2 separate regions of the Homo sapiens genome follow, and region 1 is linked to region 2. Evidence: promoter capture Hi-C in 16 types of primary human blood cells and fetal thymus (Javierre and others, 2016). All regions are on one chromosome and are shown on one strand. The core of a region is centred on a gene start or on the middle of the fragment in contact, and the rest is flanking DNA. Distances in the headings are between cores, read along the strand shown.

Region 1 (3,656 bases), core at 1,087-3,586, 360 kb after region 2:
GATTGCCAAATCCAGATTCTCATTGCCTTGGAAATCTGTTGTCTGCAGCCATTTCTGGTGCCCAAACCAGAACTGATCCGGGTTTGGGTGCATGCAAGAGATCCACATTAGGTAGTGTCACCAGCAAGGGACTTGAAGCAGGGGATTTGGTGCTCCCAAAATTGTTTGAAAGGTCAAGAGAAAATACTCTAGACTGAGCATCCAGTTGTTTCTGCAGAGCCACTTTATCCTGTTGCAGCAACTGATAGATCAGAAAACTCCTAACACTGTCACTTATTGAATGAGCATCTAACCTGACATGACCAGGAAAGCTATACTACTGCTCTAAAATTATGCCACTTCTACCACAATCCCCACCAGCAAAAGAGACTCCCCACACCCTTCCTTTTCTTTCCATGTCTCTGGGTTGCACAAATTCACCTAATTGGTGGAGCCTAAACATAGCTGGAACTCTAACTCTAAGGTGGTGCAGAAATTATTGTTTCTAGCTTTTCAGCATTTATGTAATGGGAAGGGTTGTAATGGAGGCAAGTGAACCACCATACTATCTTCCATAAGTAAGGACTTTCTTATGCATAGAAGAAAAGGGGACTCCTGATATGTTATTCAGGGGATTCCAGATGGGATCAGGGAATTCCCAAATCTGTCTGCTGCTTGTCACACTGCCTGTCAGCCCATAATGGAGCACTATTATTGATGCTTTCCATAAGCCCCTTATTAACATGTAAACATTCCTATAAGATTGAACAGATAAAGGTCTAATCCATTATTAACACCTACACAAATGTCAGTTACCAGTTGATTGAGAGAGAGGTATGTGGTGGGGAGTGGGGAAGAACCCTAGAAGATGGTAGGATGTCTAAGTAGGAGGCAAAAGACTATCAAAGGCAAATTGCTCACCTACACAAATGAGCTCCTGGACATTTCTGACTTCTTTTCGAACAGAAAGGCCAGTTGTGCTGTGACAAGGATGTACATAACAGAGAGGCAAGATAGCAAGCACAACGAAAGTTTCTCCTGTCTCCCAGCAAGCCCTGGCTCTCCAGCTCTCTCCCAGCAAACAAATGCAAGGCAGAATTCAGAATACAAATGTCTTCTGATGTATCCTTCTCCAAGGGCAGGAGGACTGTAGAGATTCACATATCGATTGGGAGCATAATAATGCAATAAAAAATTCAAAGACAAGCCAATTTCTCAGTGTTTGCAAGGACTGGCAAGTCCAGCAAGGTTATTGATGAAGAAATTAAGCAGAATGCAACGCAGCCTGCTCCAGCCTCAACTCTCTCATAAAAAAATCTACACCAGAAGCATTTCTCACATGACGTCAGCATGCTCCAGTAAAGGTGTACACTCCTGGTGGTTTTTGCTAGACGGATACTGATTGCATTCCAAGGGATGCTGTGGTGACAAGGAACACGAAGTCTAGGTTCTGGTCTAAAATCTGACACTACATTGCTGTGTTACCTAAAACAAGTCACTTGACAACTCTGGGTTTCCGTTTCTTCATTGGTAAGGCAGAAATAATAATATTAATCTTGCTTGCCTCCTAAAGAAAATGGCCTTAACTCGAGGTCCAAGGATAAGTTTCAGGCATTGTTGGAGCCCCCTGAAATTATAGACAAACTTTTACATTTAGATGGATATACTGAAGATAATTTCCCACATAATTCTAAACTGGATAATCATATGCAGGAGGAAAAGGGGTCCATGGCTCTTTTAAAAAAGTTAACAACTAATGGCCAAGAGAATCAATGGAAATAAGTTAATCGGTGAGAACTGCTCCACAAACTCTTGAAGAAAATAAGAATATTTCATTCAAGTTTACAAATAATAGCCAAGACCCACTTGCCTTATTAGTACAGTATGTACCATCTCCCTTCTGGGTTTTTCTGTCCTATTTGTGTCCCAAATTTGCAGTTTTTACTTGCTAAGATTTTTCAGTTCATATATACAACCACCTCTCAGATCACCAAATGATTTTAAGAATCCAGACTGGGTTATCCCACTTTATGGGCCCCTCACAGTTCCAAGGATCCACACCACTGGTCAGGCAAGTTTCCTTTTAGACCTTAAAGTCCATTTTCACTCCCTTTTCTTGGTTATTCTAACTAATCACCTGCAACTCTAAGGGAGGCTACTCTTATGACACTAGAGAACTCTAAACTGGTCTTTGGAGGAAGCTTACGCTTGATGTAATTTCTCTTTGCTGTTAGATCTGACATAATTACATAATTGAAGCTGCCTCTCCCTTCTAAACCAGACCAATTATGATTTCTTTATTTGCAATAAGATGCAATTTAGGGCATCAAGAAAGGGAATTATCCAAGAATCTCATCTTCCCTTTACCCTCAGTTAGACGCAGAGTTCATGCAGTCTCTGGATGCTGCTCATGATTCTTTCGGCCCTGTCTAGGCGTGGATGGATTCACTCGGTCACCGAGGTCGCCTTTCTACTCTGGTGATTATAAACAGGAAATGATAGCAGAATTACTCATAAGCTTTAGCCAAAGCTTTGTTGGGCTTAGGCTGCTGTTCCAGCAAATTCAATGTATGTCTTGACCCTTTGGTAAGACTATTTCTGGGATAAAACTTTTTGGCTCATGGCAAAATTTGCTCAACATTTACTCCTTGACCAAGTCAATGTACGCCTCTATCCAGGATAATTGCCATTAAAATAGACATTTCATTTATTTGGAACACAGAGACAAGTCTCTACCTAAATGAATTTTGGATATATACCTCTCAACAAGAGACCTAGAAAGGTTCTTAAGCAAAGACTATATTATTAAGTATATTGAAATTTATACAGCAGTGTAAACATACTGATATCAGTGAGCTTGGTTAGCTTCTAAAGAGCCAAAGCCACAATTAGCCAATAACAGCAGAGAAAATAAATATATGTCAACTTCCAGGAAGTTTAGTACTCATGTGAAGATTCTTTCTATGACCCCTCTTTTAATCCCCTTTCTGGTTTGTAGCCTGCTTTAGTGATTTTAAGGTGAGTTCATGTCACACCTCTTATCAGTTATTTTACGTATATATACAACACACACATACTATATATACATGTAAAATAGATAAAAACTTTATGTGTGTGTATGTTTGTGTGTGATCCTTGGAAATAAACTTTTTATCTTTTTAGGTACCCATAGAATATTTATAAAATAACTCTATATTAGAACAGTTGATTCAAATAAGACACAATTAGAGCTGTAATCAAATACCATTCTCTGATACTAATGCAATACATCTAGAAATGTACAATAAAATAAAAAATTTAATTTTTTTCATTTAAATAATTCTGAACTAAAAAAGAAAATTTCAGAACTGACAATTGTGTAGAATATGAAGATATATGATAACATATGAGACATAGCTAAAGCAGTGTTCAGAGGAAACTTTTAGCCTTCAATATATTAATAATTGAGATCAAATGAAAATAAATAAAGGTCCCAGTCACAAGTATTGAAAAATATCAAAATAAACCTAAACATTACATATTGAAAGAAAAATTTAATATAAAACAGAAACATAAATTTAAAATAGAAAAACAAAAAATAATAAAATTAATAAATTACTTTATTAACTAATTGTTTGAAAAAATGCGAAATTAAATAAACTGTCAGCTATCTTAGTCCAAAAAAGTGGGGGTAGGCA
Region 2 (3,915 bases), core at 193-2,692:
CATCAACAGTAGAATGAATTCCAGTGCACTCACACAATGGAATACTATATAGCAATAAATAAAAGGAATGGATATTTGCAACAACATGGATTAACCTCAAAAATGTTATGTTGGCAGGGTATGATGGCTCATGTACCCCCAGCACTTTGAGAGGCCAAGGCAGGTGGATTGCTTGAGCTCAGGAGTTCAAGACCAGCCTGGGCAACAAGGCGAAACCCCGTCTCCACAAAAAATACAGAAATTAGCTGGGCATGGTGGTGCGTGCCTATAGTCTCAGCTACTGGGGAGGCTGAGGTGGGAGAAATGCTTGAACCCAGAAGGTTGAGTCCGCAGTGAGCTGTGATCATGCCACTGCACTCCAGCCTGAGCAACAGAGCAAGATTCCATCTCAAAACAGCAACAGCAACAACAACAACACAACAAAAACCCTCAAAACATTATGTTGAGTTAAAGAAGCCGGACAAAAGGCTATGTACTATATGATTTCTTTTATGTAACGTTCAAGAACTTGCAAAACTAATCTACTGTGTTGGAAATGAGGGGCTGGGGGTGGCGGCTGGGCAGGAGTGGGATGGGGGCACTTCCTGGGGTAACGGAAGTGTTCCACATCTTGATCTGGGTGGCGGTTGCATGGGCATACACGTTGGTAAAAATGCATCAAGTTATACATGGAAGAAAGTTTCAAGAGTCTGAGAATGCCTCCCTCCATTCTCCCATTCCAAAACATGGTCATATTGGCCCAGCTAATTTCCTCCTTGCAGCAGAGATGACACATCTGAGAGCAGATAAAGGGAGGAGGGGCCCTCTTAGGCCCCACTGGCTGCCTGGTGATAAGCAGTGACCTCAAATTAATATAGGATGTCACTGTTTACCAGCTCCATTGCCTGTATCCCCTTATCCTCTCTGCATCTGCAACCACGAAAGAGGGGTTGGGATTGTTCCACAGCAGAGGAAATGGAGGTTCTCGGAAGGACCTCGGGGAGGCCATGCAAGGCTACTCGGCTTGGAGAGGACATGACCTCGTGGGGAAGGGAGCAACCCGGGGAGGAAGCCGAGGGGGAGCCTTTGGACACACAGGCAGGGACAGGCGCCAGAGGGGGCACCTCCTGCAGTGTGCTGCCTCCACATCAATAATTGCATAATGTGGATACCATTTATGATTGACAGTTCCAAAAACCAAACTCACTCACTACAGATGAGCAAGGAAGAGCAAGAGCCATTCAGAAGTGAGGAGGTATGACGTACAAGGAACACAGGATATGTTTCATGCTGTGATGAAGTTTCACAATAGACTTGGCATAGATTGAAACCCAAAGGGCTCTATCAGAAGTGGCAAATGTGGCACGCTCAGGCCAACACCCATGCCAATGATTCCTATAAAATTCCCATTGCCTGGTAGAAGTTCACAGGAGAGGAAAGTTCTTTCCTGCACCAGGTTCTATGGAGAATTGGTTGCATGGTTTCTCGTGCTGTGGGCATCAGGGACTTCAGGTGAAGGTATTTAGCTGTGGCTTTGTGCAAACCTCAGAACTGTGTCCTCCAAGGGCCTGGGGTATTTGGCAGGCGCTGTCTCTTGCTGCCTTTGCTGCTGTATGACAGGTGAGTAATATGTTATATCCTATTTCTTGGGAGCTGCCTGGAGTGTCTGCCCCTCCTGCAAACAAATGTAGGAGTGAAGCACCTCTAGTTTGAGTCACCTTAACTTACTAGGTCCTGTTGGGGGTGAGCTCAAGGGTAACTCCAAGGTGCAGAGTGAGTTAGGCTGCTGGTTCAGTTCTTGAGAATTGCCTGTCTAATTAGTGGTCTGCCAAACTTAATGGTAGAGTTACAGAAGGCTGTATTCTTTATAATGACTGGCTGGGCTGTTTGTTGAGACTCCTTATTTGTGTAGGACAATCAAGCCATCAACACGCAGGCAGAGTTGTTGCTCTACTAAGGTGGCAGCCAGGACATCTAATCTTGTGTTATGTATTTAATATTAAAAAAGGGGGTCGTTCACTGCCCTGTTTCATACTGTTCAGCTTGAGACTGGTAGGTACAAAAGTCTTCTCACTTCCCATGATTCTAGCGGTGATTGTTTAACACCGATTTTGCCAGAACGTTCAAAGCCTGGATCTCTCTCAGAGAATGCAAAGTGTTAGGCACATTTTATTTCTGCAAACTCTGTGTTTGTGCAATTTCAATGCGTTGGATTGGGTATTCCCTCTCCATTTCACTGTAGTCCCAGCTACTCCCTTTTGTCTTAGATCTGCTACCATCCCACTCCCATACATGGGGCACATGGGGTTACACAGCTGTCTTTCATCCCCAGTTCAAGGTCATGTGGCCACTTTATTATGCCTTGAAGCTCTTTCTTCTCTTCTATGAGCTACTTGGGTGTGCTTTCTGTTACTTGAGCCATTGGTTCCTCCTCTTTTGCTCAAATTAGTTTGGGTTAGGCTTCTGTCACTTCTGATCAGTTCAAACTAATTAAAATTGGTTCCAGGACTGGAGTTTTACATTTGGTCTGTCATTTCACTGGGTCTCTTTCTAATACCCTCAACTCTCTTACCCCCTGTTTTGTTAAAGCCAATTGACACAATTCCAATCAGCATTCAGTCTACAGCTACGGCTGGGCCACCATCAGTTGCTGCTGGAAAAAAACAGAGCCACACCTGCTGGCCGAAGCAAAGCAAATAACAACACTGCCTGCAGAATCTTTCCAGGGACTTAACATATTTAAAGCAGAAATTCTGCTTCTTCCTAAATCTAATCTACCCTTGGTCTTCCACATTTGAGTAAGTGGTACCACCATTTGGCCCAGGGCAAACACCTGGGCCATCATCAACTCCTTTTTCTTTCATATTCCACATCTGATCATCAGATTTGCAATCAGCAAATCTTGTTGGCTCTCCCTACAAAACACATCCTGAGTCTGATGACTTTGAGCCTCCTTCACCGCTCCTCACATCTCTGCTGTGTATGGCTGCAACAGCCTCCTAAGTGGGGTTCCTTTTTCCACGACTGTCCCTTTTAGCCTGTCCTCTACACAGCAGCAGCATGATCCTTTCAAAATATAAATCCAGCCACGCCACTTCCCTGGTTCTTAGTAACAACCATCATGCTAACGATCAAAGGTGATTTCCAACATCCTATGTGATCTGTCTCCCTGGGTCGCACCTCCTCTCCACCCTCTCCTTCCCTTTACCCTGGCTGTCCTCCTTAACTGAAATGCCCCCGTACCCCAGATATTTGCAAGGCTCTTTGCTGCTGCCTTCAGATCTCTACTCAGATGTCACTTCTTTGGGAAGACTTCCTGAGCAAAAGACTTCCTTGAGCACCTTGTTTCCACAGCCTCCCGCACTCTCTGCTCTCTCATCCTGCCTGTTTCTTCATAGTCCTTCTCTTTCCCCGATGTTTTTGGTTTTGATGTTTATGTGTTTATTTATTTTCCCTCAACCCCGAATGTAAGTTCTATGTTCACTTCTGCACGTCCAATGAGTCCAAAATAGTGCCTAGCATAATAGGTTATCAATAAATATTTGCAGAATGAATAAGCAAGGGATTGAAGAAGCCAAGATAAATGGTGGAAATCCGGAGGACACCCCTCTCCACCATCATTTGTCAATAGGCAATTTGGTCTCTTGCTTCATAGACAAAATAGAAGCCACCTGGAGGCAACTTCCTCACCCATCGACAAGCTCACCAGCCTTCATGCCTGTCCTTTGGAGCTTCCCTGCAGACAGTGGCAGGTAAGGCTTCTGCCTCTCCTAGGCTGACCCTCCACCTGTGCTTCCCATGCCTCAAGTGCAGGGACGTCGCCTCGTCCTTTCCGTCCCCTATCATTCTACTTCATCCTTTCTACCCACATTTCACTATGCTCATGTCTTTCCCATCAGCCACCTTCCTCGGGAACCACCTTCCTGGGCCTCTCCT

The links. Contacts are between HindIII fragments. The CHiCAGO score rates a contact against its expected background, and 5 or more counts as called.
Region 1: a fragment that was not itself captured here is called in contact with the fragment with the promoter of LINC01433 in region 2 in 1 of 17 cell types (M0 macrophages); the score reaches 5.5 in M0 macrophages.

What each region holds. Positions count from the first base shown.
Region 1 is chr20:4,553,219-4,556,874 of GRCh38, forward strand. No RefSeq gene overlaps it. Among named protein-coding and RNA genes, the nearest start is that of PRNP, 130 kb to the right of the region's middle. The HindIII fragment of the contact is 317 bases long and covers 2,179-2,495 here.
Region 2 is chr20:4,191,648-4,195,562 of GRCh38, forward strand. It overlaps LINC01433 (long intergenic non-protein coding RNA 1433), which reads left to right and starts at 1,443. Exons shown (of 3, transcript NR_033917.1): 1 at 1,443-1,599; 2 at 3,635-3,731; 3 at 3,879-3,915. RefSeq lists a silencer at 3,589-3,770. The HindIII fragment of the contact is 5,002 bases long and covers 1-3,915 here.